3 separate regions of the Homo sapiens genome follow, and all the other regions are linked to region 3. The links are contacts of gene promoters, found by promoter capture Hi-C in blood cells and fetal thymus (Javierre and others, 2016). All regions are on one chromosome and are shown on one strand. Each heading gives the region's core, a stretch centred on a gene start or on the middle of the fragment in contact. The rest is flanking DNA. Distances are from core to core; before and after follow the strand shown.

Region 1 (3,658 bases), core at 1,155-3,654, 210 kb after region 3:
GGAGAAATGGGGAGAAAAAAGGAATTCACTGAATTTAATGGTAGGGATGACCTTAACTAATCAAATCGGCTTGTATTTACAGAAATAACAGTTTTCCTAACAGGAAGTGATCCCAGTATTTTAGGTGCTAAACCACATTCAGAACACTTCATGGCTATTTAATCAAACCTTCAATAAAGAGCTTCTGAAGCAGCCAAAGGCCTAACTCCAGCTTTCCCAATGGCTCCCAAAAACGGTTTTATTCATTTTCCAACCTTAATTACAAGCCTTTAAAATACAAGGGCAATACCATTGTCTTTTTTATGAGCTAGAAGAAAAGGCAAGAAGAATCAAAACACGGACAGACAGGCTTCAGGTGTCAAAAGCATAGGCTCCATATACTTCAGAGATCTTGAGAGCGGCCAGCTCTCACCTAGCTTTGTCAGAGCCTTCAGAAACCTCAGATGCTACTGAATCCAAGGTTACCATTATTTTTATCACTATAATTAGCTACCATTTACTGGTAGCTAATAATATGCCCTCAAAGGTAGTTATGATTATCTCCATTTTACAAATAAGAAAATGAACTCAAAGAATGAACATATGGCAGAATCATGACTCAAATCCACGCCTGCCTGCTCCAAAGTCTGTGTTCTTTCCACTGTGTCACTAGTAGGTATCAGAGACATTTCTAATGATGAGTGCCTTTCTTTGACTGGCTAAGGAGCAAACCCTCATTAAGTTTATCATTCACATAGGGAGCTAAAGGTGTGTGGTGAGGTGGAAGACTGAGAGGGAAGGAAAAAATAATTCTTGTACAAATAAGTTAGCTGTTTAAACACACAAGAAGAAAATGCCTTTTTAAAAAATGGTTATAAATACTTTCCTTTGAAGAAACATGTTAAAGCATCTTTCAAATGGAAGCCAACAGCTTACAAAAATGGCTACCATCTGAAAAGATGATTAATAGTAGACTGACTTTTCACAACAAATAGGAATCTAAACTGGTAAACACATATCCTTCTTAAGGGATTATGTATGTAATCTTAATAGTGGTTAGCACTCTGCCCTGTACAAACATTCACTCACATCAGCGCTAACTGACATGAATAATCATTTAGTATTTCACAGTAATATATAACACTCTCAAACTTAATTTTTTGATAACTATATCATGTTAAAATACTTTAAAAAAGCAACTTCCATTTTGTTCACTGGGAGGCTTTCTGTTTACAAACAGAAAATATTCCAGCCAATAAATTAAGTCAATGATACAGTTTGGATGTTTGTCCCCTCCAAATCTCATGTTGAAATGTGATTCCCAATGTTGGAGTTGGGGCCTGATGGGAGGTGACTGGATGATAGGGGCAGAGCCCTTGTAAATGGTTAAGCACCATCCTAGGTGAGTCCTTGTTCCATTCACTCAAGATCTGATTGTTTAAAACTCTAGGACCTCTCCCTCACCCGCCTTGCTCCCGCTTTTGCCATATTACATGCCTGCTCTTGCTTCACCATCTGCCATGATTGTAAGCTTCCTGAGGCTCTCACCAGAAGCTGGGCAGATATTGGTGCCATGCTTATGCAGCCTGTAGAATCCTGAGCCAATTAAACCTCTTTTCTTTATAAATTACCCTGCCTCAGGTGTTTCTTTACAGTGACATAAGAATGGCCTAATATAGTCAGTTTCCTTTAAAAACACAAAGTTTTACAGTAAAGTATTATGCTGTACTTTTGTATTTAATCCAATAGAAACAAAATGAAAACACTGTCATATAGTGTCATATTATAGATGTGGCTACCATGCAGATCAAAGCATATAATCTATTCTTGTCCAAATATATCAATGTAGGCAACAACTACTAAGCAAAATACACATTGAGTTTGTTTCTTAACATTATAATGGGCTATTTTTTATACAATAAGTGCTGAATGATGATTTGTCACTTTAAAGCCAGACAGAGGACTCAAGCAGTATCTAAGCTGTACAGGCTAGGCTCAGGCATGACCAAACTCCTGGGACACCCTTGAAACACCCCCACTAAAGTCCAGATGGCCACAGCTGTGGATTGTGGAGCTGTGTAGGCGGTAACCCTAGATCAAGAAAGAAGAAACACTAAAGACATAAACCCTATGATCATCACACAGTTCAGGGGCCACATGAACCAAGAGATTCTGCAGAGTTTTAAGCCTTTATTGCATGTCAGCTTTGTGAGGATTCTTTTCTTAAAGGCAAGACAGACTATGGGGCCCAGATGCTATGCTTAGCAGTGGAATCAGAGGCTTCCTTCAGTGGTGCAGCCACCTCCCTAATTCAAGACTGCTGGTAACACAAGGCACAGTGGTTTCTGTTCCTGAAAAATCAATTGCTAGGATGTCTCCCAACAGAATTGCTCCTCCCAATCAGAGAGGAAGCTCCCCCAGAGCTCTGCTCTAATGCCACAATTCCCCACACTCTAGAAAATGATGTCGACATCTAGTGCTTTGTTTCCACAGTTTTTCCTGAGCTCAGCAAATAAACAGGGTGGTGCCATTATGGCCCAGAGTGTTTTACCTCTGTCAGAATTTTAGGTCACTTCCTGAAACAGTTATATCAGAGGTTGCAAACCAATGGTCTGTGGAATGAATTCAGCCCACAGATCTGCCTGGTTTGGCCATCACAGTGTGTGTGTGTGTGTGTTTTTTTTTTAAAGTTGAGCTACATTTAAAACTGGGAGACATCACATAAAAATGTACATATCTAGCTTTTCTCTGAAAAATCACGTGATCTAGCAACTGCAGGCAACAACTGGCTGAAACTAAGGCACCACTCCCCTTTTAGGAAGGACAGTTTGCCTAGTTCCTATACTCCGTAGCTGATTCCAAACACTGCAGCCTGGCCTTGCTTCACTCATCTAGATACCTGCTGGGTTTGTGACACCTGAAATGTGTTCTGCAGAAAGGTTTAAAGATACAATGGTAAGTATCAGTGTACTCTAGTGTGTCTCAACGGCATACTATTGATGCAATAATTTTGGAGCACAAGAATTCCTCGTCATGCAAGACTATCCCAGGCAATGAAAGGTATTTAGCATTCTGGCCCCGCCCATAAAATCTCAGTAGCACCCCCAAGTGGCCTCTAGAGAGGCAATACTTTCTTGGGCTGACAGCCACTGCTAGCATATTAAGGTAATGAGGTGAGTGAGCATTTCCCAGGTTTGAAGAAAAGTTAGCCTTGTCTTGAGAGAACTTTTAGGATTGCAAAATAAAAGAATCATTAATTTTTCTGGTTGGTCTGGTCCAGTAATAATTGTTGAACAAAACACAGTATGTATATGAGTATAAAGCTTTCAAACTTTCATCTATTTTTTTGCTGCTTTGGAGGTTTTGATTTTAGATCATATTTACTGAGCCGTATCTGAGTATCAAGTACTGTGCTAAGTGCTTTACCTCATTTAATCCCTAAAATACTTCCATGAGAGAGGTAATATTATCATCCACGTTTTACAAATAAGGAAACTTGAAGTTCAGAGAGGGCAAATAAATTGCCTGTGGTTACACAGTCAACCAGTAGCAAAGCTAGGATACAAATTTAAGGTTATGCTCTTAACCATTATTCTTCTGTACTACTGGCTACCTGGTAAGACTCTGATGATGTCATAACTCTTAACAACAGTTTAAAGCAAACCTTGCTTTTAAAACA
Region 2 (3,269 bases), core at 187-2,686, 190 kb after region 3:
CCAAAAATCACAAAAAAGCTGGTTTTCATCAAGTCATGCACTGATTTGCATCTATTCTAAATGCTTATTCCCCTGCCTCCCCCCGTCACCACCGAAAAAGGTTTAGATTCCTTCCCTAGCTTAAAAGTTTAGATTGGAAACTCAGTATAAAAAGTTTTCTGCAGTGTGGAAGAGTAGAATTTAGTATAAAATGGATACATTTAGATTCGTTATGAAAAGAGATTTAGAAATGCCTAAGTATCCCAAAGAGCTCATTGTCCAATGCAGACAAAAAACACAGCTCTTTGCTTATAAAACCTTAATAGTGGTTTCCCTTGCAGGCCCTTTCACAAATGTTTTATCCACTTGAATATGCTGTTTTAAGATAATTTTCTGAAAATAATTGCTGTGATAGCTCATAAAAGCCACAGTGCTATTTGATGTATTAATTGAATCTTTTTATGCTTTAAGAAGCTGCATATGTATTTCTTCAATTACTTGTTACAGCTCATGTTCTAATTTCTAGATCACAAAAGGCTTACTATAAGTATCCTAACCAAATGTTTTACTGTTTGTTTTGCTCCAAAGACCACACAAGTAAAAGAAATTGATGCAATCTTCTAAAATATAGTAGCAATAGTTTATGTAACCCCTACATCATGCATAGTAATTCTTTGATTGCTTCAAGTTAGTGGGCTATAGAGTGACTAGGCTTCTGAAAATGACTTTAAGGGTACCTGACTAGATTGCTCAATTCTCACATTCAAATTTGCTTCTGTCTGTTGTTCAGATAATGCCGTGTCTTTTGGGTTCACCTGCCACTAATCTTTAATCTCTCGCTCTTTGTTTTTTAGACCGAGTCTCCTTCTGTTGCCTAGGCTAGAGTGCAGCGGTGTGATCACGGCTCACTGCAGCCTTGACCTCCTGGGCTCAGGTGATCCTCCTGCCTTAGCCTCCCACGTAGCTGGGATCACAGGCACACACCACCACACCTAGCTAATTTTTAAAAAATTATTTGTAGGGATGGGGTCTCCCTATGTTGCCCAGGCTGGTCTCTAACTCTTAGGCTCAAGTGATCCTCTCACCTTGGCCTCCCAAACTGCTGGGAATACAGGCATGAGCCATTGTGCCCAGCCTACTGTTTGTTTAATCTTGCCTAAAAATGGCAGTGAGATATTTTATTATATACTCTTAAAACACTGTAGAAAGTCTTAGCTGCCATAATCAAGAAAAGTTAAGTGTGGGGGATGGGGGGCAGGAAAGCTGATTAATACACAGAATTAAGAAAAATTACACGTCAACTTTAACGTAACAAAACACTTGTATATAGCTATATTTTAAAGTTAGTTAGATAAAGACCTAATTTTTACGTGTCTGTTGGCTGGGGTTCCATATTGTATTTCTTACATAAACCACACCCATGATGACCTACAGCAGAGGTTGGCAAACCTTTTCTGTCAAGGGCCAGATAATATTTTAGACTTTGTGGACCTGTGATAGAGTCTCTGTTGCAAGTAGTCAACTGTGCTGTTGAAGCACAAAGGCAACCATAGGCAATATGTAAACAAATGGGCATGGCTATCGCTCCACTAAAACTTTTATTCACAGAAACAGGCAACAGGCCCTAGTTTGCTGAACCCTCATCTATAATTTTGATTGCTTTAGAATGGAGCAAGAAAGATATTAAGAACACTTATAATGCAATTTGAGTACAGAATCCTTTTAGACTTTTTTCAGTTGTTTTCACCCATATCTAATTCACAATCCCTATTTTTTGAGTGATTTGCCTTTGGCTTTCATAGAAAGAGCGGCTTTCTCCTTCATGTCAGTTTATGAAACATTAAATTGCAGAAATACAATAACTGGCATAAACAGGTTTGGGGACAGAATCAACTCTTGGTAAGCAGACAATTCAACCGATGGGAGCAATATTCATGGGCCTACCAGAATGCAGCCTACTAGTCAAAAGTATGCAGCAGCTGTGGACATCAGTCAGTATATTTTCCACAGAAAATGAAGACCATCTCTAATCTGGTGAGTTGGGTAAATGAAAGTTTAAGAGAGCTTCTGCTGTAGTATACTTCTGTAAAAAAATCCAAAAAACTAAAACTATGATTATAGTTGAATGTTTTCACATAACATAACATGAAAAATAACATATATAGAGTTTATTTTAAAACTGAGAAATCTGATACTCTGATTTGGGATCCCTTTTTACAGATATTTTAGATGTCTATCACATAATATGAACTCTACTAAGTTTTAGAATTAAAACCCATCAATTTATAAAATATTCACAGTAAATGACAAAAAGAGGATAAATGCAAAGTAACAACATAGAACAGTCTAAATGATAAGAACTTGATGAAACTGCCGAAGTAAAACTATTTTTTCATCCCCAAATCTGATCCATGACCATGGGACAGGGGGATCTCTTTCCCAGGATTGTAATCTTACGGATAAAAACTGTCTCTTAAATCTACAAAACCAAAGTTATTGCTATTTAAGCAGCTTAAAATACCACACTATTACTTATGGTTTACCAAATAATCAAGTCTATACCTCTAGATTGAAGGAGGTCAACTTCTTTCAGTGTACAGTCAACATTTATCTGGAGTTGTCTGTTCATGCTTCTCAATCTTGTCATTTCCTCAGGCTAGTAAGAAAGGACCCAAAATAGCAATTGTGGGAAAGTCATTATCAAGCCCAACATTTAAGAACTGCGTTTCATGTTAATTGTAATGATTGGGTATTACCAAGAATACGGCCTTAGTCCATAAGAGGGCATGTTTAAGAAGTCCTATGTATATGTTTTTAAAGGAATAGTCGGGTAAAATGGGGACATCAAAATGGCCACATATAAACAAAATCTGCATATAAAGTGGCGAGCTGCAGTAGTGGACTGTGTTCTACCATACAAGATACTACCGTTTTAATCATAGAGCACTGAGAATATTTTGTGTCTATGTTTTCATGGTAAGGGAAACTGTAAGAATCAACCTGTTAAACGAGTCATGTCCATGATCTTAGTCTTGTCCAGCCTGGTAAAAATTACAACAGTACGGTGTTTACCAGAATTCTCTCATTCCTTCTTCTTAACAATCCTTTAAGGTAGGTACTAATATTGTGCCCAGTTTATAGATGAGGAAACTGAGGCACAGAGAGGTTATATAATTTTCTTAAAGTTATAAAGCTAGTAATTGGTAGAGCCAGGATTTATATAAAAGACTCCTATATAAATTCATATATAAATATTTTTGTCATATTTTTTCTAGATTGAAGGAGGCAGT
Region 3 (3,444 bases), core at 835-3,334:
CTGGGCGAAAGAGCAAGACTCCAACTCAAAAAAAAAAAAAAAAAAAAAAAAAAAGTTCACAGTAAATATTTAAGATAGGCTGAGCTCAACTCTTCCATCTAACACCTTTCCCCTTATCTTTACCTCATCTCTAACAGGGTGCTGAGATGTGACGCCTGAAAGGCCAATATTTTGGCTTTTCAGTTTTGTTTTGGTGAAAGGAATGAGGATGTGGAATACACATTGTTGTAGGAACCATAGGATCAACAAATTTAAGAATCCCCCATGTACATCTAGCCCAACTTATTCTGAAATGTCTGAATTCTGATCCCATTGTGCTGCCAAACAAATAATTTGCTGTCCTGTTGGAATCTGAGAGTCAAAAGTATGTGAAAGTTCAAACGTGGTCAGGGATTTTTTTTTTTTAATGGATCGATGTGGTAGGTTTGGTGGCTTTGTTTTTACTGCCTTCTAGAACCAAGAAAATCCTTTTCTATATCATTCACTCAACTAATGCCTTTCACTGTTTTTAGAGGCAAGTTGGCCTGGTTCCTTGCTTATATGCCTGTCTCCCTCTTTTCCTCTTCCAGGAAATTCAGAGATACTGACTCATCTTCACTCTTATATTAAAGCAAGCCAGTTTATCGATAGTTATTAAATCTAGTATGTCCATAAGCAGGCTTCATCTGGAACATTAGAATGTGAGGTCTAGACGGTGTTTAGGAAAATTTGCTTTCAGATCATGTGTGGTAAAACTATACAAACAGAGATGGACAAGTGACGTGGTGTAGAGCAAGGTAAGAAAGGAAAAAAAAAAAAAAGGAAAAGAAATGATGTTCCAGAACACAGAGATTTGGGAAAGGGATGGAAAGAAATGACAGTGGGTATAGCGGAGTGCTTTTAAAATTGATAGAGAGCATGGTGGGTTACAAAAGCAATTTAGTGATTTTCAATCAGCATTAAAAAAAAATGATATGCCATAGAATAAAAATACAGAATGCATACTGTGGAAGGACAAATATTGTTTTGGAAAGTTTTTCTATACATACATAAATGTATATTAGATGTATATAACATGTATTTACATGTGTAACAATTGTAACTACAAATGTGCTCCCCGCCCACACACACTGGAGCCTGGGTTTGTTTTGTAAACTGTTTCACAGTGTGGGTCTTGGTTCCAAGTTTGAAAGCCCTTAGAACACAGGATCCAGAAGGATCCGGGCAAGGTAAATTCAAGGTCAAGGGAGAGTCCCTTTTCTGTCCCCTGCCATCCAAAGCAGTTAATGGAGGGAGAGGAAATGGCGTGTGGGGGAGGGGACCGCAGAGTGAGGCCAAACGAGGAGCAAGGGCGCGTCAGGACGGAGTGGTGCCGGGCGCCTTCTGCCTGAATGGTCGATAGAGGAACTTGGGGAGGTTGATTTTGGGTGCTTTCCTTAAATGCTAAACCGAAAGAACTTCCGCGTTTCTTGTCCCTGAAAAGCTTGCAACGGTGAAGGATTCGCGTTGCTCCTTGAGGTGACCCTATATGGGGTCAATCCCAGCCAAAGGAATGATTACGATTACCAGGGGCCAGATGCAGGGAGGTGGGCGGGGCGTGGGAAACGCGGGAAGGCCGGGCCGGGTAGGTCCACACAGCGACTCACGTCGCTGCACGACTCTGCACAGCCCACTGGAGGGAACAAGCAGTTCTACACACTTTGAGACCCCTATGGAGGCGAGCCCCAGGACACTAGTGGAAGTGCGCTCTTTTCGCCGGCCAGGAGCGCTGCCTGCCAAAGGGCAGTACTCGTCTCCGCCCCATGCCATGCAGCTGGATGGCTCTGCTGTCCGCTCGCCGGGCCCCCACGTGACCTACTGCGCGGGCCGCCGCCTCCACCGCGCCCAGGCCCCGCCCCCGTGACGTCTCATCGCCCTCTGCCTGTCCGAGCGTTCGGCTCTTTTGCGTTTGCTGATTGGCCAGCCCAGGTGACAGCGCCCACCCCCACCCCCCCTGACACGCCCCTGGAGCCTTGGGGGTACGCGGTGGGGGGCGGGGCCTGGGCCGGAGGGGCGGGGTGAGAAGGCTGCGCGCGGGTAAAGGGGCCGCCTCGAGCGCGGTCCGAGCGTTCAGCGGACGCGCGCGGCCTCGATCTCTGGACTCGTCACCTGCCCCTCCCCCTCCCGCCGCCGTCACCCAGGAAACCGGCCGCAATCGCCGGCCGACCTGAAGCTGGTTTCATGGCAGCCTCAAAGAAGGCAGTTTTGGGGCCATTGGTGGGGGCGGTGGACCAGGGCACCAGTTCGACGCGCTTTTTGGTGAGCCCGGGGTGACATGTGAAGAGGCGCTGAGCCGGGGCGGGAGTCGGGGGACGGAGGGGGTGGCTGTTGTGTCCCCATCCCGCATCTCTCCGGCCCGGTGCCCCGGCCGCTGGGCAAGGAGGGAGGCCGGAACGGGACCTGCCACACTGGGGATGCCCCAGCCAGGCCTGGGGGACCTCGGCCTCTCATGACCCCCATGGCCGAGTTGAACAGTCGCAGTTTTGGTGGCGGAGCTGGGTCACCTACTAATGGGGTGACTCTTCCCCCAAAGGGAGCAGGGACTCTCCGAGCATCCGCGCAGAGCGGCCCGCTTGCAGTAGGGGACAGGTGGCCACATTGACGGCTACCGCGGTCTTCCCCAGGAACATTTGGCCTGCGAGACACAGGACGTCCTTGGATGGGGGGAAAGCTGTGTCACGGCTGTGGTAGCTAACACAGCGTCCTTTCCAGCAGTAGAACGAATAAAGTATTGGAGTGATGATGCGTTGTCATCCTCTCCCATAAAAATTGCAGAGGGTTGAATACTGGGGAGGGTGGCAGAACAAATTAGGAAACAGTCACACTACACTGGTTTTGCCATAATCTTTATTTAATTCCGAAGACTCGCAAATTTCAGTTCTGAGACTTTGCCCATTACAAACAAATGATTGTCCTTACTGTGCTTCACAGCATAATGCGACACGGAAATTCTGTTTCTCTTTTTATTTACCATGTGTGACAGCACAGTTTTACCACAAAAGATTGCTATTTAAGTGACTGCTGATTAATTTTTGTGCAATTAGTAAACTTGCTCTTAAAGTGACCTAGCACAGAGTTCAGTAAGATAATTTAAAAGTAATTGAGGCCGGGCGCGGTGGCTTACACGTGTAATCCCAACAGTTTGGGAGGCTGAGGCGGGTGGATTACCTAAGGTCAGGAGTTCGAGACCAGCCTGGCCAACCTGGCATAACAAAAATTAGCTGGGCGTGGTGGCGGGCGCCTGTAATCCTACTTACCCGGGAGGCTGAGGCAGGAGAATCACTTGGACCCGGGAGGCGGAGGTTGCAGTGAGCAGAGATCACACCACTGCACTCCAGCCTGGGCAATCCAGCCTAGCCAACAGAGCGAGACTCTGTCTCAAAAAAATAAAAATAAATAAAAAATAAATAAAAGTAATTGAAATGA

What was found. The method cuts DNA at HindIII sites, captures the fragments that hold promoters and counts their contacts. A CHiCAGO score of 5 or more calls a contact.
Region 1: a fragment that was not itself captured here is called in contact with the fragment with the promoter of GK in region 3 in 1 of 17 cell types (naive B cells); the score reaches 6.0 in naive B cells.
Region 2: a contact is called between a fragment that was not itself captured here and the fragment with the promoter of GK in region 3, in 2 of 17 cell types (total CD8 T cells and non-activated CD4 T cells). The highest score is 5.3, in total CD8 T cells.

Annotation. Positions count from the first base shown.
Region 1 is chrX:30,862,149-30,865,806 of GRCh38, forward strand. The region is part of intron 4 of TAB3 (TGF-beta activated kinase 1 (MAP3K7) binding protein 3); the gene reads right to left. Among named protein-coding and RNA genes, the nearest start is that of TAB3, 25 kb to the right of the region's middle. The HindIII fragment of the contact is 1,792 bases long and covers 1,509-3,300 here.
Region 2 is chrX:30,844,010-30,847,278 of GRCh38, forward strand. TAB3 (TGF-beta activated kinase 1 (MAP3K7) binding protein 3) reads right to left here. Exons shown (of 11, transcript NM_152787.5): 8 at 2,542-2,635. Among named protein-coding and RNA genes, the nearest start is that of TAB3-AS1, 11 kb to the left of the region's middle. The HindIII fragment of the contact is 3,989 bases long and covers 1-3,269 here.
Region 3 is chrX:30,651,339-30,654,782 of GRCh38, forward strand. It overlaps GK (glycerol kinase), which reads left to right and starts at 2,085. Exons shown (of 21, transcript NM_001205019.2): 1 at 2,085-2,277. The coding sequence starts at 2,200. RefSeq lists a silencer at 1,755-2,174. The HindIII fragment of the contact is 2,269 bases long and covers 1,461-3,444 here.